Regions from separate parts of the Homo sapiens genome. Here regions 1, 2, 4, 5, 6 and 7 are each linked to region 3. The links are contacts of gene promoters, found by promoter capture Hi-C in blood cells and fetal thymus (Javierre and others, 2016). All regions are on one chromosome and are shown on one strand. Each heading gives the region's core, a stretch centred on a gene start or on the middle of the fragment in contact. The rest is flanking DNA. Distances are from core to core; before and after follow the strand shown. Region 1 has its middle 360 kb from the start of ANGPT1. Region 2 has its middle 260 kb from the start of ABRA. Region 3 holds the start of ANGPT1 (angiopoietin 1). Region 4 has its middle 240 kb from the start of ABRA. Region 5 has its middle 330 kb from the start of ABRA. Region 6 has its middle 330 kb from the start of ANGPT1. Region 7 has its middle 350 kb from the start of ABRA.

Region 1 (2,909 bases), core at 40-2,539, 360 kb before region 3:
TATCCATCTGTTAGTTTTTGTAAGAAAAGGGATGAGTAAATAGCTAATAATCACATGACTCTGTAAAGTATAGGAAGCATGCTTAGAAATCCTATTAGAATTATGTATTAATATAACTTTCACAATTTTTTCCTGAATCATACAAAATCCTATGCATATTATTCTATTGATGATATAAATGCTTTTAAAAATTTATCGAGATATATTAACTCAAGCAAGCCATGCATATAAATGAATAGTGGTCTATTTCTGAATAATTCCTTGAAAATAAAGTAGTATGGTATGTTTATTCTTTGTTCCAAATGATTGATACACTTTCTCTATAGAAAGTGAGATTATTAACATTTATATATATTCAGTTATTTAAATTCTGCTAAGGTGATGCTTAAGTATAAAGATATTTTTTAACATGATTTAAGCCTTCCCAATGCCATATACTGTAAATAATCAGATATTATTAAACTAACATTTATACTACAATTTTGGAAGGGTATTTTCCCACTAGGTAAATTACCATAAATCTAGTAGTTTGGAAACATGGTGCCTTATAAAAAGAGAGCAACCACAATGTTTTGCTTGGTGTCACATTTTACATTGAACACATTATCTGAGTGTTTTAATCTGCCACATTATTTTTAAAAACAGACAAACTAGAAGGGGATAATGAAAAATGTCTATTGGTATCTGGCTAAATTCACATTAAAGTAGAACTCAAGAATTCCAATTTTCTTTCCCTTAATTTGTGTTAAAATGTGGGTTTTCTCTTAAATATACAGGCCATGGGATAGACATTGCTTTTAGCTAGTCTTCCTTGGCCCCATCAAATGGTCAAATAGAACATTTGCATCTTTACCAGTTTACCTCCCCTACCTTTGGGATTCCCCATGGCAGGTTCTACACAGTTTTCTTCACAACAACTGTGAACTTCTGGCATCCCAGCCTAGACCTTGTGCTTGAATCTCTGCAGGATAACATGTAACTAATTCCTCCTACTCTCATTAAACCAGCTTCTCTACACACAAGACAAGCAAATGGATTTATCTATCTATGATCCAAGCCTCAGAGCTTTCAAACAAGCTGTTTTGGTGCCAAATCAAAGAAAACTCAGCAGAGATAAAATAGCAAACTTCCCTTGCATAATTTCTGCCCCTCCCCAGTTGCCAAATGCACTGAATCATGCTACTATTACCCAAAGCACAAAGCCTGAGGGTAAATATTAACAAGTGCTGAATTTTTCCTCTTCAATATTTCCATTGTGCATTTCTTCCTCTCCACCTTTATCATTTAAAGTGTGATTATCTCCCATCTTGATTATTATATTTTACTTTCAAAAAAATCAAATTCCAGCATCAAACAATTATTACTAATTATTGGTCTTTTCCCTTCCTTTCAGAAAACATGCCATCCTTTACTTAAGGATCTTGCAATGTTTGCAGTTACACTTTTAAATGAGCTCCACCTTTCTAAAAGTAGGCAAGATATAGCGAAGTGTGATTATACGAAGATAGGTTTGTGAAAGAAGTTATTACATCAAATTGGTCAAGAATCTTCCAACTGCAAGTGACAGATAAAAATAATACTTTCCTAAATTAAAAAAAAATCATGCATGGCTAGATCTAGATCCAGGGGCTCAAATAATATCAGCTGAACTTCTATCCATCTTTCAGTTTGGCTTCTGTGTTGGCTCAAGTCTCAGAAAGGCTTTTTTTTTTCCCTGGTGGTTGCCAAGAGTTTTAACTTACAATCTATCTTTTTAGAATTCTACCCAATGATTTAAACAAATGTCATAAAACTGTGTCTCATTGTCTTTTACTGGGATACAGGCTTATTCCTGAGCAGGGACAGGAGACCTGGGGGCTCTAGTTGGCCATATCTTGGTGACGTGCCATCCCTTGGATCTAAGGGTAGAGCCAACTCCCTAAAACCACATGGACTAGAGTGGAGAAAGGGGGACTTGAAAAAATTAGCGGACATTTTGAGAATCCCAAACCAACAAATGTGAAGTAAATATGACATGAGGAAAAATATATGGGTATGTCAATAAGGAGTATATGTGTAATATAAACAAATAATCATGAAGCTCAGTACATCATGATATAATATTGGAAATGCTTTACATTAGGCAGTAATAATTAATTATTCCTTATTTTTTTCAAATACATAATATTTAGGGCTACCTAGAGAACTATCAAAGAGTAGATGAAATAATTTTGCATCAGGCTCTCTTTATAAGTGTTTGATTTTTTTTTCCAGGAATGAGTGACTTTATTTTCTTTAGAAATGTATTCAAAAATATCCATGATTCCTCAAAGGCCCAAGCTCATTCACAGTAAGTCTCACAATGTCCAAACTCTTCACTATTATACATTTTCTGCTGTCCACTTATAAATATTTTTCAAAATAGTCACAAATAGGATACTCAGGTGCTTAATACATGCACTAATAACAAGGAACTTAATGAAACATGGGTTACAAAGATAATGAGTACAGTCTATAATTTATACCCCTTTCAGTTGTATTTTGCTGCCTCTAAGCTAACAGCGATTAAAGTTCACAGTTTCATGCAGCAGCTGCTTTTGCTGAAGTGGGGTATAATCAGCATAGTTATCATTAGGGTGCACTGAGGGACACAGCTATTCTTGTTGAAGAGCAGCACTCTAGACACAGAAACAATCTGCATTTTGTAGACAGAGAAATGGATTATGAGTGGTGATTGGTGACCAAGAAGTATCCAGATTAATATAGGAAGAAGAAGACTAATTTGTAAGTCCAGAGACTTGACTTCTGGTCATAATTTATTAATTTGCTATGTGACATTAGCTAAGCATTTCACCTATCTGGGCTTCAGTTTTCTCATTTTTAAAATGTGTATATACATGTGTGTGTGCCTTCCATTTTCTAAATTCACT
Region 2 (2,867 bases), core at 241-2,740, 460 kb before region 3:
GACCATCCTGGATAACACGTTGAAACCCCGTCTCTACTAAAAATACAAAAAAATAGCCGGGCGTGGTGGCAGGCGCCTGTAGTCCCAGCTACTTGGGAGGCTGAGGCAGGAGAATAGCGTGAACCCGGAAGGCGGAGTTTGCAGTGAGCCGAGATAGCGCCACTGCACTCCAGCCTGGGCGACAGAGTGAGACTCCGTCTCAAAAAAAAAAAAAAAAAAAAAAAAGAAAAAAGAAAAACTAATACCAAACTGTTTCAAACTCTTCCAAAACATTGAAGAGGCAGGAAACTTCCAAACTTATGAGGCTGGTACTACCCTGATACCAAGGCCAAACAAGGACACTGCAAGAGAAGAAAATTACAGTCCAATATCACTGATGAACATGGATGTAAAAATCTTCAGCAGAGTGTTAGCAAACCAAATTCATTAGCATATTAAAAGAACTATTCAGAATGATCAAGTGGGATTTATTGCTGGGATGCAAAGATGGTTCAGTATATGTAAATAAATAAATACGATATATTACATTAACAGAATGAAGGATAAAGCCATACTATCATCTTAATAGATGCATGAAAGGCATTTAAAAAATTTTGCATCATTTTATAATAAAACTCTTAACTAATTAGGTATAGAAGAAATGTACGTTGGCACAATTCAAACCATTTACAACAAGCCCCATAGCTAGCATCATATTCAACAGTGAAAAGTTGAAAGCTCCAAGATCAGGAACAAGGCAAGGATGCTCATTCTTGCCACTTCCATTCGTCATAGTACTGGAAGTCCTAGCCAGAGCAATTAGGTCAGAGAACAGAATAAAAGGCATCCAAATAGGAAAGGAAGCACTTAAATTGTCTCTGTTTACACTTAACAATCTTGTATATAGAAAACTCTTCAGACTCCATAAAAAATGTTAAAACTAATAAATTCAATAAAGTTGCAGGATATAAGACCAACATACAAAACTCACTAGCATTTCTATACACTAGTAATGAACTACTAGAAAAAGAATTTCAGAAAACAATCCCATTTATAATAGCTACAAAATACTTAGGAATATATATAACCAACAGGTGAAAGACATATTGAAAACTATAAAACATTGATAAAAAATTTAAGAATGACACAAATAAATGGAAAGATATCCCATGTAAAGGGATTGAAATTATTAATGTTGTTAAATTGGTCATACTACCCAAAACAATATACAGATTTAATGCAACCCCTATGAAAATTCCAATGACGTTTTTCATAGGAATAGAAAAGACAAACCTAATATTTGTATGAAATCACAAAAGACCCCAGTGCAAAATCATTCCTCAGCAAGAACAAAGCCAGAAGCATCTTATTACTTCATTTCAAATCCATTATGAAGCTATAATAATCAAAATAATATGATAACGGCATAAGACAGACAATACACCAGTGGGATAGAATAGAAAACCCAGAAATAAATGAATGCATTTATGGCAAATTGACTTTTGACAAAGGTGCCAAGACCACACAATGGCAAGGACATTCTCTTCAAATGATACTGGGAAAACTTGATATTCACATGCAGGACTACCAATACTACTACTACCACTACTACTACTTCTGCTGCTAGACCATCTTCTTACATCACATTAAAAAAATTTTAACTCAAAATTGAGTAAAACTTAAATATAAGACCTAAAATTATAAAACTACTAGAAGAAGACATAAGGGAAAAGCTCCATGACTTTGAGCTGGGTAATACTTTTTTTGTATATAACTTTAAAATCACAAGCAACAAAAGCAAAATAGACAAATGGAATTATATCACACTAAAGAGCTTCTGCATTGCAAAGGATACAGAGTGAAGAGACAACCTTCACTTCAATGAGAAAATATATTTGCAAGTTATATATCTGATAAGGGATTAATATCTAAAATATATCAATAACTCAAATCAATAGTAAAATACCAACACAATTAAAATGTAGCAAAAAATCTGAATAGACATTTCTCAGAAGAAGACATGCAAATGGCCAAGATGTATATGAAAAAGAACGCTAACCTCACTTATTAGGGAAATGCATATTAATGTTGATAATATTAACATATTATCAAAAAGACAAAAGATAACAAGTGTTGTCAAGGGTGTGGAGAAAAGAGAACACTTATACACTGGTAGTGGAAATGTAAATTAGTACAGCAGTTGCAAAAACCTGTATGCAGTCCATGGGGTTCAACTGTGTCCCCACCCAAATCTCATTTTGACTTATAGTTCCCATAATGTCATGGGAGTGACCTGGTGGGAGGTAACTGAATCTTGGGGGCGGTTCCCCCCATGCTATTGTCGTGATAGTAAGTTCTAACAAGATCTGATAGTTTTATAAGGGATTTCCCCCTTAGCTCAATTCTCATTCTTCTTCTCTCTGCAATTATGTGAAGAATGATGTGTTTGCTTCTCCTTCTACCATGTTTTTAAGTTTCCTGAGGCCTCCCCAGCCATGCTCAACTATGAGTCAATTAAACTTCTTTCGTTTATAAATACCCAGTCTCAGATATGTCTTTATTAGCAGTGTGAGAATGGAGTAATACAGGTATGTACTCAAAAAATCAAAAATAGAACTGTCCTATGATCCAGTAGGAATCCTAGGATTCCACTAGTAGGTATATATTCAAGGGATGCATATTAAACAGGTACCTGCATTCACTCTCATGTTCACTGCAGCATTATTTACAATAGCCAAGATATGGAATCAACCCAAGTGTTCGTTAATGTATGAATGATATATAAAAATGTATTATATATATACAATGAATACTGTTTAGTCTTGTAAAAGAATTCTGTCATTAATGCAATCAAATTGTTAATTATCCTTGCTGAATTACATTGTGAC
Region 3 (3,087 bases), core at 247-2,746:
CATTCATACTCAACATTAACATTCATCAAATAACATGGATACTTAAACTCGCCAGGTACTGTCTCTAACTACAATGCCCTGAGAAGGGAGGTATTTCAGGAATATAGTAGACTACATGCTGCGTTCAGCCCATATCTGCAGGTGCATGTCTTCCTCAACAGCCAGCATGCCCTCATCGTGAGCGAGCAACCCCTTTCCGACAGTTAACATTACAATGTATCTTTTTAATTTTTTTTCTCAAGGACAGAAGAAAAAAATATTTAACAGAAATCAGTCTACTATTCTACCACTTGCTGAAACTAACAGTTCCCTTTACATAAATATACAATTTCTCCAACCAAATATCATATTTTATATTTACTCTCACTTCATGTTAATTTTTATAAAGGTTAAAAAAACAAATACTTTGTGATGATTTGCCACCCCAGCGGCACAAAATTTTCTGGTGCAAAATCGATTTGATCTTATTAATTAATATTGTCATTATTATTTATTTTTCACCAACTTGCTTAAGAGGTACATACTTTCTTTCTTAAGGTAGTGTTTTGACAGAGAGAACCTTAATGCTGAACTTTAGAAAAGAGAAACCAAAAATGTCATAAAATTTGCCAGGGCTAGACACACAAACGGGGTGCCCCCACACATTCATAGGTTTGGGCAAGCCCCCAAACCTTGGCTTACCCAGGAAGCCAAACCCAGACAGCCGTCTTGCAATTGCAAACACTGCCCCCCTGGAGCAAAAGGTAAATACACAAATGCTCCCCTAAGGAACTTTAAGTTAGCTGCAGTGCAAGAAAGGAAAAAGGTCCGTGCTATTAGAAACTGAAAGCAATCACTTACTTTTTGCAGCCACTGAGTATAATTTTCCATCACATGTTCCAGATGTTGAAGTTTCTGGGAAGAGAAATCCGGTTCCACGTGTGGAGCATCTCTCTGCAGAGCGTTTGTGTTGTACTGGTCTGTCGTACTCTCACGACAGTTGCCATCGTGTTCTGGAAGAATGAAAGTGTAGGCACATTGCCCATGTTGAATCCGGTTATATCTTCTCCCACTGTTTTCTGGACTTCGGCGCTGATTGCTGCACCCTATGTGAGTCAGAATGGCAGCGAGGAAAGCAAAGGAAAGGAAAACTGTCATTGTACTGCCAGCACACTCCTTCCGTGCCTCTCGCAAAACTTGCTCCTTTCTTCTGACCTCTAAAACTAGTTCTTTATTTCAGGTAAAACTGCTTGTTTGTTTGACTCTTTCCCCCTCAAAGAAAGCGTTTGAAGAAGAATCATAGAAAACTAGCCATTTGTTAGCTTTGTTCTAAAATTTTAAAATTTTTTATTTCACTGCAATGATGTTTTTCTTCGTTAAAACTTGAGATATTTATTGCATAGTAGCTGAGATTTATTGTTTCCTCTCTGTGTGACCGTTCAGCATGGAGCCTGCCTGAGTCAGCTGCGTGTACATATTCTAGACCCTTTCCTCTACCCTATCTGCTGCAGATCTGCTATTTTCTCCCAGACCTCAGTGAGTTTTATTAAGGTTGCACATCCAAGCCAAGCTGGAAGCAGGCAGCCTTTCACAAGATGACTTGACAGGAATGCATGAGTGTGCCCCTATACTAAGGATTGCTGATGGCTTAGGGCGGCGGGATCGTCTTACAAATTGGCTAGATGCGCATGACCTCGATCATGTATGGCCCTCCCGCCCCTTTCCACAGACAATTGCCTTGAGCCTTTAGCAGATTCATGGCAAATCAATAAATAGAGCAGTCCACCTTAATACACTTTTGGTGTGCATGCTGACCTACTAAAATATAGCAAACTAGCAGTATGTTTTTAAAGTTACTATTTAGTCGAGGGACCCTAAGAAGAAAATTGGCATAATGTCCAATGGAATTATTTTTGATAGAGAATGATAAACCCATATCATTATTAAATGTCTTTAAAAAACATGTATTCTTGACTCTGAGGAAAAATATGTTAAAAAACAGTTTTTACAGATGGTATTCTTTCATTGTATTCACTTAGACTTTTAGGAGTTGAAGAAAATAATCAGAGAGGATCAAATTAGCAAGAAAATTAGCATCATTTGTTGCTCAAAGCAATATGTTGCACAAAGCAATATAGTATGTGCATATTAAAGAGGGTTATCTAAGTACCTTTTGGTATAGGGTTCTTAAATGAAACTGGTGTCCTGATCAGAATGCAACCCTTCATGTTCTGTGTATATAAATTGAGCAACTTCCCTACAAAAACAATGTGGCTACAATTTAAAGCAGTGGCTTGAGAATTATTAATTCCTGTGGTATATCCTAATCCTGTATTTTACAAGGATCTCTTTGGTGGCTATGGCTGTCTTTAACACTGGTGTGGAAGTTCCACATAAAAACCTCCTGTGGCTGCACAGACATACTATGTGAGAACAAGCATATATCAGGTGTGCTAACAGCCAGCAATGGGCTGTACAGGAGACATCTCTGTGCTTCTGTGAAGGAAGAAAGAAAAATTATCAGAAGATGATTTCCCACAGGCAGCGTATAAACATTTGAACAAAGGGACCCATAAACATAAACAGGCAATAATTGTAGAATTTAGGGAACGGCTTTGAGATCTTTACTAGATGCAGAAAACCTGAATTATGAGTTGGGATTTTCATTAGGAACTGGGAGGGCTTTTAGACAACTGCAGTCATGGTGTGAAAACAGAAGCCACAGCTGTCATCTCCCATGTCTTGGAAGGAGAACAGGGCAGTGGGTGAAGGTCCGTAGTGGTTAGAGATGGGCATTTAGGGAGAAGTTAGAGGAGAGGTCAAAACAAATTCCAGAACAAATGCGATTTACTTGGGGAAAGAAACCTTGCCGAGATTCATCAGTCCTTTCCACACCAAATAACAAATTTCTGATTGGACAGATATGGAAGCAAGTTATGCCAAACACAGCAATAAAATATTTGAACCACTTTTGCAGCCTCTTGAACTTTTGCGTGTCTCCTCATTGAGTCATGTATCACTCCTGTGCAACAATAATAATGGCATGCATTAAGACCTTACTGTTTTCCAGGCGAAGCACTCCTTACACACTATCTCACTTAATCATTC
Region 4 (3,169 bases), core at 404-2,903, 480 kb before region 3:
GCAGAAATCTCTGTAAGCATTTTTAGTAAAATGCTGCTTACCTGGCTTGGCATAAATATAAGTGAGGTCATGATTAGAAATCTGTCTCAAACATTAATCACTATAGCTGACTCTACTGCAAAGACTATAGTTGCCTAGCAAACTTCTTTAACTTTTCTTACTAATATCATTTTAAATCACATGTTTGCTTTGGACTACCTATTGTCTAAACAGAGGGGGTAGTTTGTTAGTTGACATCTCTTGTTGCATGTGGATAAATGTGTGTGGTATAGTAGAAACTCAGTTCCAAGAAATCAACATACATGTTACCTTCTTAAAATAAGTAGATTCTTCTGGCTCATTTTATAAAATTTATGGGATTTTAATGGTTCCCTGTTGAGAAAGAGCTTAAAGGTCAGATGATCATCTTCTAAAAATTTAGATAAAGTGTTCTTTTCAATTAAGTGATTTCATGGTATTATCATAAAACATGAAAGTAGTTAAAAATTTAGATGGTACCTGCTATCTTCGAGATACTGTTCTGAGGGCATGTGCTCACTCATTCATTAAAAAATGCTTTTTAAATATTAGATGCCAGACATTGTTCTAGGCCCAAGGGTTACATCAAATTCTTACCTTCATAAAGTGGTATTCTAAATGGCATAAATAGCATTAATAAGCTACAGAATACTACATGTTAAGAGAAAAATAGAACCAGGAAACGGGATGGAGCATTCAAAAGGAGGATTTGCAATTTTAAATAGGGAAGGTTTGTTGAGATTATTATTTTTGAGTGAAGATGTGAAGGAGTGAGAGCAAACTATGGGCCCCTCTAGAGTAGAAGCATGGCATGAGTGGGAACAGCAAGTACAAAGGTCCTGAAGCAAGATGTGTCTTTTGTCTTAGATGAACTGTAAGGAGACCTGTGTGACTGAAGAAAAGTATTACAGGGAAAATTAGCTCAGGGAATTAAGCTCAGAGGGAGTGAGAGATTCGATTTTGTAGGCCTTCCTAGACCTTGGTTGAGAATTTACTTTTTCCTCCGAGCAAGAATGGGCATCCATTGAAGGATTTTGGTGGAGGCATAACATGACTTGGCTTACATCATTATTTGCACAGAATTTATCATAGATAGCAAGGTAGATAGGAGGCTGCTGCAATAATCCAGGAAAGAGATGATGGCAGTTTTTACCCAGTTGGTGGCAGTGGAGATGGTGAGAAGTGATCAGAGCCTGCATTTATTTTGAAGGCAGAGAGAGCAGAATTTGCTGACAAGTTGGATGTGGGGTGTGAAAGAAAAATAGGGACTAGGATGGGCCTGGATTTGAACCTGAGCAATGAAAGTGAGGTGGGAAGGGTGAAGTTTCAGAGTAGAGTGGCAGAGATTATCACCAGCTTACAGAACTATCCGTTTAATCATCTTAAAACTCTTTGACGTTATAATCTGCATCTTGAAGATGAAACTGACATAGAAATTAAGAAACTGGCTAGCATTCAGAAAAAGTGCTGAAGGCAAGATATGAATACAGGTGCCTGACTCAAGATTTGTCTGTGCTTGGTTTCTCATATAACATGTTATAACATGGTCTCAAATATGATTTAACAATGGAGAAGAAGACGCAGACTTCAGTAACACAAACACTGAGTTGTAGACATCAATCAGAAGAAACACAAGATAACTAGGAAAAAAAAGACTGAAATCCCAATTCTGAATATAGACAATGATTCCTTTCTCTTATTAGTCCTTTCTCTTATTAGGAAGAAAACATTTTTACTAAAGATATTGTTCTCTGGTTAGTTATTGAATTTTAAATACTATTTTTTTCTAATCTAGAATTGATTCTGTCTTATTTATTTGAATTGAGTATGGAGGCACTCTTTCGCCCCATTTAAAATGGTTTCAGGCCAGGTGCAGTGGCTCATACCTATAATCCCAGCACTTTCAGAGGCCGAGGCAGGAAGATTGCTTGAGTTTAGGAGTTTAAGACCAGCCTGGGCAGTGTGGCAAAACCCTGTCTATACAAAAAAAAAAAAAAAAAAAAAAATCACACAAAAAAAAACAAAATTAGCTGGGTGTGGTGGCAAGTACCTGTAGTCGCAACTACTTGGGAGGCTGAGATGGGAGGATTGTGTGAGCTTGGGAGGTGGAGGTTGCAGTGAGCTGAGATTGGGCCACTATACTCCAGCCTGGGCAACAGAGTCAGACCCTGTTTCAAAAATAAATAAATAAATAAATAAATAAATAAAAATGATTTCACTTTTGTATCATTCTGGCTATCAACCTTTCTAATAACAAAAAAAATTTAATTTTGTATTATATCCTTAGCCATATTTCCTTTTCATAAAGAGAATGTGAAAAATATAGCAAAGTATAAAAAATATAATCAGGAGGGAATGTTAATAAGATGGCAGAATAGGGCTTTCTAGCTCTAATCCCCCATAGAAGCATCAGTTTGATCTATTCATGCACAAAAATACTTCATAAGAGATAAAGAAACCAGAGGAGAGATTACAGCACCTGGGCTTAGCAGAAAAATAAGAAAATAGCATTTAAGAGTGCAGGAAGAACAGTTTTACATTACCTATGTCACCCCTCTCCCAACCAGAGATAGAACAGAATGGAGAGAGAGACCCTCTGCATGGGGAAGGATAGTAAAGTGAGTACTGGACATTGCCTCAGATCCCAATACTGGGCTTGCCCAATTAAAAACCAGCACAGTGCAGATCTTCATGGCCACAAACTTCAGACCCTCTTTGATGCCAGGCCAGATTACACAATCCCAGATTCCAGGCTTGTCCCATGAGCCAAGCCAACCCCAGTGGCTCCAGGCTCTGGACAGACTAAAATACTGAGCCAGCTCCAGGGGTCCTGAGTTTCTGGCCCACTCCAGGACCAGGCCTACCTCAAGACCCAGGCTCCAGGCCTTTTCAGTGCCAGGCCTGCCCCTGCAGCCCCAGGATGCAAGCATACTCCAGTTTCTAAGACAGCCCAGAATCAGGTCTCCATCAATACTCCTGGCCTCAGGAATGAGGTCAGCACTTGTGGACACAGGCTCCAGGCCTTCCCAAGGCCAGGTCAGTTCCTGGAGCCCTCAGGATGAGGTCAGCACCTGTGGACATGGGCTCCAGGCCTTCCCAAGACCAGGCCAGTTCCTGGAGCCCTAGGGAGCTCCCAAGCTGGCTGCTGCAA
Region 5 (3,184 bases), core at 430-2,929, 400 kb before region 3:
ATCTGTATAACAAGCCCCCATGACACACGTTTACCTATGTAACAAACCTGCACTTGTACCCTGAACTTACAATAAAAGTTAAAAATAAATAAATAAAATTGTACTTGTTGAGGGAAAAAATAGGGTACTCAGTTACAATTGTATTACCTGTTGGTGCATTGGATTGTGTGTTATAATATCCCTGTTTGGCCTGGCAATTTTTCCAGCTCACATTCAGCGTTATAATGATGTATAGCAGCAGCCCCTAACAGTTTTGGCACCAGGGACTGGTTTTGTGGAAGACGGTTTCTTCATGGACTTGGGGGGTGGGGTGGGGGTAGGGGCTGGGAGTGGGGGAATGGTTTTGGGATGAAAATGTTCCACCTCAGATCACCAGGTATTAGATTCTCATAAGGAGCGCGCAGCCTAGAACCCTTGCATGCACAGATCATAATGAGGTTCGCACTCCTATGAGAATCTAATACCTCCGCTGATCTGACAGGATGCAGAGCACAGGTGGTAATGCTTGCTCCCTACCACTCATCTTCTGCTGTGTGGCTCAGTTCCTAACAGGCCACAGAATGGTACAGGTCCATAGCCTGAGGGTTGGGGACCCCTAATGTACGGTGTTATGGGCAAATTAGTGGCCATGAAAGCCAAGATATTAATAATAATCTATTCTCAGTGCAGAAGTATAGTGAAGTTTAATATAGCATAAGTATCAACCAATCATACCTGATGCTGGCTCAATTTTAAAAGATACCAGTTATAGACAACTGGAATAGATATACCATTGTGTGTATATAGATACACAGTGACATAAGAGCATCAGTCCTGCCTATGTGATTCCAACTTCAGCTAATCTATTGTAGGGAAGTTTCAGCAAGTTGGGGATTTAGAGGCAGAAAGGGAGAAATCTCTTTCCTCCCAATCATAAAGAGTCACAGCCAATACTCCTATAAAACAAAACACAGGTTAATGAGAAAAGCATAACAAATGTATTATGTGCACAGGAGTCATGCAAAATATTGAAAACTGAAAGAAAGGGCCAGATGGTTGATGCTTAAATACCCTTTTCACTGGAGGAGAAGCAAGCGTGTATGGGGTGCACGGAGGAGGTTGCTGTAAAACCATGGGCCTGAAGACTATAAAATGGTTTGTAAATGATTCTCTTTGGGAATTGAATGGGGTCTAAGAACAGACAGTAGTTTGGGACAAAGTTCATCTACATTCTAGGTGTGATATTTAATTTTCAGTCTCTTCCTTTGTAAGAGGAATTTTAATCTTCTCTGATTAATGACATTTCAGGGAAGAGATCAAAAATAATTTTGTTTGTGTTTCTAGGTAAATAAGGGGACATCAGAGAAGAGCCTCATCCTGTGTTTTGGGAGAGATGGAGGATTGAGACAAGGGTGGGTAGGCAGGAGGTCAGAGAGACCTTGAGTTTGCTTCTTTAGTTGAGCATGTTAAAGCACTGTATTTCAGGGTGTTTGATATTTCAGGGTATCAGTTTCTGAGCCTCAATAGGAGTTTCTGTGAGTGGAAAAGCTTCTGCTTTCCATTTACTATCATAGGTTTCAAAGCAGAAATCTGCCTACTGATTTTGGATCCCAGGTATAAAAAAAGAAAAGAAGAAAAATAAGAAAAGAAAAAAGAGGAAAAGATGGAGGAAGAAAGGGGAAAAACAATAAAACTAACCAATTAAACAAACAAACTCATTTCTTCACGTAATATCAGTTTGTTGACTTAATGTTTTAATGATTAGCTAGCTTAAAATTGGAGTCCCTTGTGTTTAAGGATTCATTAAAGCAGTCAAAAATAGTAAAATAAAATAAAACTATTAAAATGTGTACAAAGCTTCCTTCTTAATATGGGTAGGGCAATATTAAGTTCCCAAAGGCAGAGAAGAAAGAATTCCTACAAGGGAACAAAACAACACTTTTTCTTTTAAGATGCTGTAAATATTATAAATAGTTTTAAAAAAAGTTGGAAATAAACTTAAACAAATTGGTTTACAAAATCCTGAAAAGCCTGTGAAAATGACAAAAAGAATTAAGACATCCAAGAATATGTAGAGACACATGGAAAAGCATTGTATTTTAGATTTAGTAATTAGATACATTTCTCATTAAATGGTTTCTATGTGAAAGGGCAAACTAGACTGAAGTAATTCAACCCAGACCTGCTTGATCCCAAAAGACTGGCACAGGGCAAACTAGACTGAAGTAATTCAACCCAGACCTGCTTGATCCCAAAAGACTGGCACAGGGCAAACTAGACTGAAGTAATTCAACCCAGACCTGCTTGATCCCAAAAGACTGGCACATCACATCACAGAAGATTTTCTGGATTTGTCAGACCTTCTCCAAACCTGGATTATTGGATGCTTGAATTGTGAATGTGGACTTAATGATCTTTCATGAGCATGCATTACCATATCTGGGGCCAACTTTTTGTAAATCTGTTGGTACTTGGGTCTTCTTAAAGTGCTCTTTTCTATTTCTGCTGGGGTTTCCCCATTTTTCTCCTACAAACACTATGGTGACTTGTGGGGGTCCCCTTTTGAAGGAATTCATAAATGAAACATAAAGGATGGAGAAATGGAACTTGGAATATCTGGAGTTTAGTTGAAACCTCAGAAACTTTGGTGCTGTTAGCCTAGGGAGCCTGATGTACCAAGAGGATAGATACAGATATTGATAAAAGAATCAAATGCTGGGTGTGGTGGCTCATGCCTATTAATTCCAGCACTTTGGGAGGCTGAAGCAGGATTACGTGAGCCCAGGAGTTTAAGACCAGCCTGGAGGTCGGGTGGGGTGGCTCACGTCTGTAATTCCAGCACTTTGGGAGGCTGAGGCGGGTGGATCACAAGGTCGGGAGATCAAGACCATCCTGGCTAACACATTGAAACCCCGTCTCTACTAAAAAATACAAAGAATTAGCCAGGCACGGTGGCACGTGCCTGTAGTCCCAGCTACTCGGGAGGCTGAGGCAGGAGAATGGCATGAATCTGGCAGGCGGAGCTTGCAGTGCAGTGAGCCAAGATCTTGCCCCTGCACTCCAGCCTGGGCGACAGAGCAAGACTCTGCCTCAAAAAAAAAAAAAAAAAAAAGACCAGCCTAAGCAACATAGGGAGACCCCATCTATAATAAAAATTTAAACAATTTTTCAGGTATGGTAGTGTGTGCCTGAGGTCCCAGCTACT
Region 6 (2,925 bases), core at 161-2,660, 330 kb before region 3:
AATTTTGTATTCAGAAAAGCAAAAGGAAAAACATATAATAATATGTAAGGCATCATCTTGTTTATATTTATTATGCTGATCATTTGGGCTTGTCTTTCTGCCAGAGGTCCAAAGGACTCAGGACTAAATCCTCATTCAGCACTAAAGAAATAAGTGAAACCTAGTCTAATTTTCAGTGTAACCTTCGTGAAACAGTGAGACCATAAACTTTCAGGAGTTTCTAGCAATGATGAGAAATAGTGCCAGAAGTTTCTAGAAATGACAGAAGCTACTCTAGGTGCAGTCAGTAGAGCCCTTGATGTAAGTAATCAATTGTCTCAAGACAGCTATGGCAGATTGGCAATACCTCCCTTTGGTGCCTGTCAGTTCCTGGCCAGCCCCAGCAGGAATGGAGATGAGAATGCAGGAGAGTTGCTTCTTTAGGTTGCTTAGACAGAGAATCGATGAAAGAGGAGGAAAAATGGAAGAGGTCAAGAGTCCTAGTCCATGAAGCACATGGGAGATAGTCTGTAGGAGATTTCTGGAACTTTTCTGGAAGCATGTGAGAGAGTCTAAGTTTCTTAAGCATCAGTGGCAGCTTACAGAATGGTGAGGAAGACAACCTGGAACATTTCAAGATTTCTAAGCTTTTATTTCCCCTTTCCCTCTGTTAGGACCTGGGAAAATTCCCATTTTGGGTCAAAATGGAAATGGCTAGAACCATGTAATTACTACTGATTTAATTTCTTATTTTATATTGCTGATTTAGTCTCGTTATTTAGGAATTTAAGTATTGTTGTTTTTTCCATTTGTAAGCATCACAGCATTCATAGATCATTTGATTCTGAAACCCAGCTGGTTTCTGGGTACTGATGACTGCTTTTTAGAGTTATTAACACAAGTGATGCTAAAATAGAACTTTTGTACCTCTCTCTGCCTAGAAACCCCCTTTTTCCTAGTTTGTACATGTTTAGCTTCTACTTATTCTATTTCACCAATTCTCAAATCCAACCCCCCATACTTAAATTAGGCCCCTAATATACTTTCTCATTTCATTCTGTATTTTTCTTACTTAGCACTTAACTTGATTTGTAATTATATATTTGTGGGTTTTTTTTTTTTTGAAACTACAGTTCATTTTTCAGAGAGCTAAAGAAGAGAGGGATAAAGAGATGATTGTCACAGATGGCAAGCGGGGGCCAGGAACCTGAGAACACACACAAAGGGAATGCTGAACACAAACACCTCTGGCCATGCACACAGCACCTGCTTCTTGGGTTTTACACTGGATGGCCCCAAGTCATCCTCAGCCTTCCTCCTCTGCCCCACCAAGAGCTCTTATTAATGATCCTTACTTCCCTACTCAACTTCCAATTTATTCTTCTTCACTTTCTATTGTGCCTTCTCTGGCATCCTCTGTCTGAGCCCCAGCCCTAGAAAATTAGATTGTAAAGACATTTCCCTCCATTTTCCAGCTGGATGGGAAGGGACAGATTTTGAAGGAGGTAGTGGAAGGAATAAGTCACTGAAGAGCTAAAGTATAGCAAACGTGCTGTGTACATTAAAAAAATAATATGGTCATGAGGATCTAAAGTAGTAGAAAAATGAGAGTCAGTGGATGTAAAAACATGCCTTATGGTATGCAATGGCTTGGGAATTGAACCCTGGCCACTCTCACTCTAAGGTGCATGATACTCCTGTAACACCCAGCTGCCTGGTGCTCACAGCTCAGCATCATGATTGACCTAAATTCAAATCCATTCCTGACATTGCAGTCATGAACTAGGCTCCTTAAGTTGGTTCTTTTATGACGAAGTTCCTATTTCAATGATTTTCAGCATTCCATCATTTTTTATTTGCCCCAACATACCTTCACAACAAGATGCTTTTCTATCAGTAAGAGTGCATGTTATGGTAGAGTGGAGGCTGGATGGAGGTAGAGTTACATACTTTGCATATGGACTGCCTTTACTCTGATCAGTTTCTGATATGTGCTGCCAAGGGGGAGTTCTCCCTTCTCATTTTTGAGAATCCTTTTCAGATCAGAAGGAGGGTCACTTGTGCTGCAATCCTTGCTTTGTGAGCCCCTCCAATGTCTCAGTTTCTTGAGACCAGGACCCACAGATGTGTCAGAGATTTATTCCTGAACATACCTCCCCTGGTACTGTAGTAGGACGAATTGCAGACAAAACTCGTCAAACGGGTTAAAGAAGGAAGAAGCTTTATTCGGCCAGGAGCTTCGGCAGACTTGTTTCAAAAGCTAAGCTCCCCGAGTGAGCAATTCCTGTCCCTTTTAAGGGCTTACAACTCTAAGGGGGTCCGCATGAGAGGGTCGTGATCGATTGAGAAAGCAGGGGGTACGTGACTGAGAGCTGCATGCACTGGTAATTAGAACAGAACAGAACAGGACAGGGATTTTCACAATGCTTTTCCATACAATGTCTGGAATCTACAGACAACACAAGCAGTTAGGTCAGGGGTTGATTTTTAACTACCAGGCCCAGGGTGCACACTGGGCTATCTGCCTGTGGATTTCATTTCTGCCTTTTAGTTTTTACTTCTTTCTTTAGAGGCAGAAACTGGGCATGAGGGGTGGTCTCCTCCCTTAGTATATGCTACAGCTGCACCTCCCAGGTCCCGACTTCCCAGGTATCTTCCTTAACTTCTCTGTGTTGCTGGCTGCCCATTCTTTTCCAGCACCATTCCCATGTCCTGCCACACCTCTCCTCTTCTAACCCCAGCACTCTCCAGCACCACACTTTCTTCACTGACTGGAATGTCTGCCAGCTGTTTACCATGAGTCTTTGGCACATCTGTGTAGAACTCCTACTCTTTATTCATACTCAAATAAGTCCCCAGAGGACATCCTTGTGGTCTGTCTGGTGTCTGGGTCTCCATCATTCTAACTTGACTGCCATGTCTGGGTCTTCCCACCACATAGATCCA
Region 7 (2,907 bases), core at 92-2,591, 380 kb before region 3:
ATGGGAATTCTAAAAGGAGGAAGATGAAGAGGTGAAAAATTGCCATTTGGGTATAATGTTCAATATTTGGGTGATGGATACACTAGAAGTTCAATCCCCACCATTACACAATACACCCATGTAACAAACCTGCATAGAGTATTTCTTGAATATAAAACAAAGTAAAAAATAAAAGTGTGGAATGGAAAGATAACAATGTGTCGTGATATTTGAGCTCACCTGGTCTTACAAAGTTTCACATATCATTCCATGTAACAGGTGGCTTACCTCGCCTAAAGGTGTGGTTAGACCAGAGATGGAGTCACTGCTTAGTGATTCTGCCATCAGTCTCTCTCAGCCTAGAGTATATTCACTTTGGTTTGTGAGGATGAGTGACTCTAGTGAATACATTTTTAAAACTCTCCTGAAACATAAAGTCTGTCTTGGTTTTGAATTTTGAAAAATATTTAAATGCCTGGAACTGTCTTCATACATCCTTCATCTTCAATCCCTTGCCAAGCTAACTTCTATTTATCTTTGGATCAACCATTGCTTCCTTTGGAATTCTTCTCTGATTTCCAGTCATGGAATCAAACTAAGTATCCATCAACCATGGATTGGATAAAGAAAATGTGGTATGTATGCACCATGAAATATTATGAAGCCATTCTGCATTTCTAATGGCCAGAAATCCCTCCATGCTGATGGAGCTATGTCAGCTCAACTTCAAGATTCCCCCTCTACAACAGTACAACAGTTATGAGTCCAAATGCCGTGAATTTTTTTTTTATTAATCACTGAGATCTCATCTCCTACTGGCCATAGAGCCATTCTAACCAGCTTCTGTTGGAAGCTTGGACATGTTTATTCAAGAACAAAGCGAAGGTTAAAGGATAACATAAAATTGTAAGGAGTTAGGGTTAGGCACAGGAACAAAACAAGAAAAACATTTCCAGCCACTAAGACATATATGTGTGTGTGTGTGTGTGTGTGCGTGCGTATGAGTATGGTGTGTTCAAGGTCCCCCAGCTACATGCTCTTTATTATAGCACTCTGGCATAGCGTGTGTAGTTATTAATTATCATCACATTTGTGTGATGATATATGTGGCTGTAAAAACAACTCATCCCACTATATTGTGAGTTCCATGTGTGGGATGGCTACATCCCCCAGTACACAGCCCAGTGCTGAGCACATAGCAGGTAATCAGTAATTATATATGAATAAATGAATCATTCCAATTTTCTGATTTACATTAAATTTTTCAGATTTACACTTGGTGATTGTTATACTTTAAGACTTTAGTTAGCCTCCATTTGGAGATTTGCTTATAATGAGCTATCAACCATATATTCTAAAAGGAGTTGTCAAGAAAAAAAAATCAAGACTGTTTCTAGAATGCCTGAAATTATGACTTTTTAAATATAATTTGATTAAGAGATCAAAAGAACAGAAGAACTATCTGAGTAATCTCCTTTTAAATTCCTCTCTCTGTAGAGTCACACATTCATGACCTTTGTTCCTGTTTCTGAATCTCTCAATCAGAAAGATGCCTGCTTGCTGCAGCCCTGGAGGGGGACAACACATGAGGAACAGGAGACAGAGTCTCAGGGTCAAACCACCTCATCCAGTGAATACTGTAATATTCTATGGCTCAGGTCTTGTAAAGATCTTCTTAGACATTTTTATTTGTTAACTGTTTAATGTTTAAATGCTTCTCAATGGAGAAGAATTACACACACACACACACACGCACACACTTCTTATTGGCTAAAAATGTCTCTAGTGTTTTGTTCCTGTGACTAATGCTAACTCTTAAAATTTTATGTTATCATTTAACCTTCAGTTTGTTCTTGAATAAACAACATGTCCAAGCTTCCAGCAGTAGCTGTTTAGAGCAGCTCTGTGACCACTAGGAGATGAGATCTCAGTGATAATAAAATATTCATGGCATTTGCACTCATAACTGTTGTACTGTTCTAGAGGGGAATCTTGAAGATGAGTTGACATAGCTCCATCAGCAAACATCCCACCGGATGTTTTCTTAAGCATTCTGAACAAAGTTCAACTGCCCTTTGGGAGAAAACACACATTTCTTCCTAATTTATAATTGTTGGAATGATACCAACCCCCCAAAATCTGAAGAGTTCATTAGGGGAAAATATGTTCAAATATAATAATGCTTTATTTGTCCTTTATTCTATAGAACCATATAGATCTTTTTAAACATCTCAGCAATCAACTATACTACCATGTCTTGAGGAAGGCAGGAAATACTAGTCTTATTTTATAGCTGTTTTAGAAAAAAACAGAAAAGCTTTACTCTTCTGAGATAAGAGCCTTCCTGGAAGAAGTTTAGCCTCTTGGAGAATGTGTTAATAATTTCAGAACACACTTAAGAAGCAATGCAATACATTGCTAATTTTAGCTCTGTACAAGAATATCAGAATTCAAAGTGACCTACATAGATTTTTACTTTTTCAAATACAGGTTGTCTTATGCAGTTTGTTTTAAAACATGAAGGACCTAGTGACTGAGAAAACCTGGAATCATTATATAACTCAGTGGGGAAAAAATTAAATTTAATTTAATAATTTTCTAACTTAATTATGTTTGCATATTTATTCTACATTTCTTGAGGCCACTACAGCCTGTTGTGCATTGCAGACCACAAACAAAATAATAATTTCTGGCTGCAACAAATTTCTAGCAATAACACTACAACCTGAATGGTCTAAAATATTTTTTCCTCCAGTTTAAGCAGTGTTTGGTTTTTCTCGTGCATTCAGGAGTGACTAAGGTATTCCTCCTTGTCAACTTTGTGCTAATCATCCTTGTACCCTTGTTTGTTCAATGACTGGAATTTACATCCTCGAACTGGTACCATTTTTAAAAATTATCCATGTTTCTCTTGAGGCCATGCTGATT

Evidence for each region. Contacts are between HindIII fragments. The CHiCAGO score rates a contact against its expected background, and 5 or more counts as called.
Region 1: a fragment that was not itself captured here is called in contact with the fragment with the promoter of ANGPT1 in region 3 in 2 of 17 cell types (erythroblasts and megakaryocytes); the score reaches 7.6 in erythroblasts.
Region 2: a fragment that was not itself captured here is called in contact with the fragment with the promoter of ANGPT1 in region 3 in 1 of 17 cell types (erythroblasts); the score reaches 6.0 in erythroblasts.
Region 4: a contact is called between a fragment that was not itself captured here and the fragment with the promoter of ANGPT1 in region 3, in 1 of 17 cell types (erythroblasts). The highest score is 5.0, in erythroblasts.
Region 5: a contact is called between a fragment that was not itself captured here and the fragment with the promoter of ANGPT1 in region 3, in 2 of 17 cell types (erythroblasts and megakaryocytes). The highest score is 7.0, in erythroblasts.
Region 6: a contact is called between a fragment that was not itself captured here and the fragment with the promoter of ANGPT1 in region 3, in 1 of 17 cell types (erythroblasts). The highest score is 5.4, in erythroblasts.
Region 7: a fragment that was not itself captured here is called in contact with the fragment with the promoter of ANGPT1 in region 3 in 2 of 17 cell types (megakaryocytes and erythroblasts); the score reaches 7.6 in megakaryocytes.

The regions. Positions count from the first base shown.
Region 1 is chr8:107,139,847-107,142,755 of GRCh38, forward strand. No RefSeq gene overlaps it. Among named protein-coding and RNA genes, the nearest start is that of ANGPT1, 360 kb to the right of the region's middle. The HindIII fragment of the contact is 4,031 bases long and covers 1-2,909 here.
Region 2 is chr8:107,032,954-107,035,820 of GRCh38, forward strand. No RefSeq gene overlaps it. Among named protein-coding and RNA genes, the nearest start is that of ABRA, 260 kb to the left of the region's middle. The HindIII fragment of the contact is 7,125 bases long and covers 1-2,867 here.
Region 3 is chr8:107,496,422-107,499,508 of GRCh38, forward strand. It overlaps ANGPT1 (angiopoietin 1), which reads right to left and starts at 1,497. Exons shown (of 9, transcript NM_001146.5): 1 at 841-1,497. The coding sequence starts at 1,137. The HindIII fragment of the contact is 4,855 bases long and covers 1-3,087 here.
Region 4 is chr8:107,011,867-107,015,035 of GRCh38, forward strand. No RefSeq gene overlaps it. Among named protein-coding and RNA genes, the nearest start is that of ABRA, 240 kb to the left of the region's middle. The HindIII fragment of the contact is 5,672 bases long and covers 1-3,169 here.
Region 5 is chr8:107,097,437-107,100,620 of GRCh38, forward strand. No RefSeq gene overlaps it. Among named protein-coding and RNA genes, the nearest start is that of ABRA, 330 kb to the left of the region's middle. The HindIII fragment of the contact is 309 bases long and covers 1,526-1,834 here.
Region 6 is chr8:107,167,862-107,170,786 of GRCh38, forward strand. No RefSeq gene overlaps it. Among named protein-coding and RNA genes, the nearest start is that of ANGPT1, 330 kb to the right of the region's middle. The HindIII fragment of the contact is 1,573 bases long and covers 625-2,197 here.
Region 7 is chr8:107,114,847-107,117,753 of GRCh38, forward strand. No RefSeq gene overlaps it. Among named protein-coding and RNA genes, the nearest start is that of ABRA, 350 kb to the left of the region's middle. The HindIII fragment of the contact is 1,022 bases long and covers 831-1,852 here.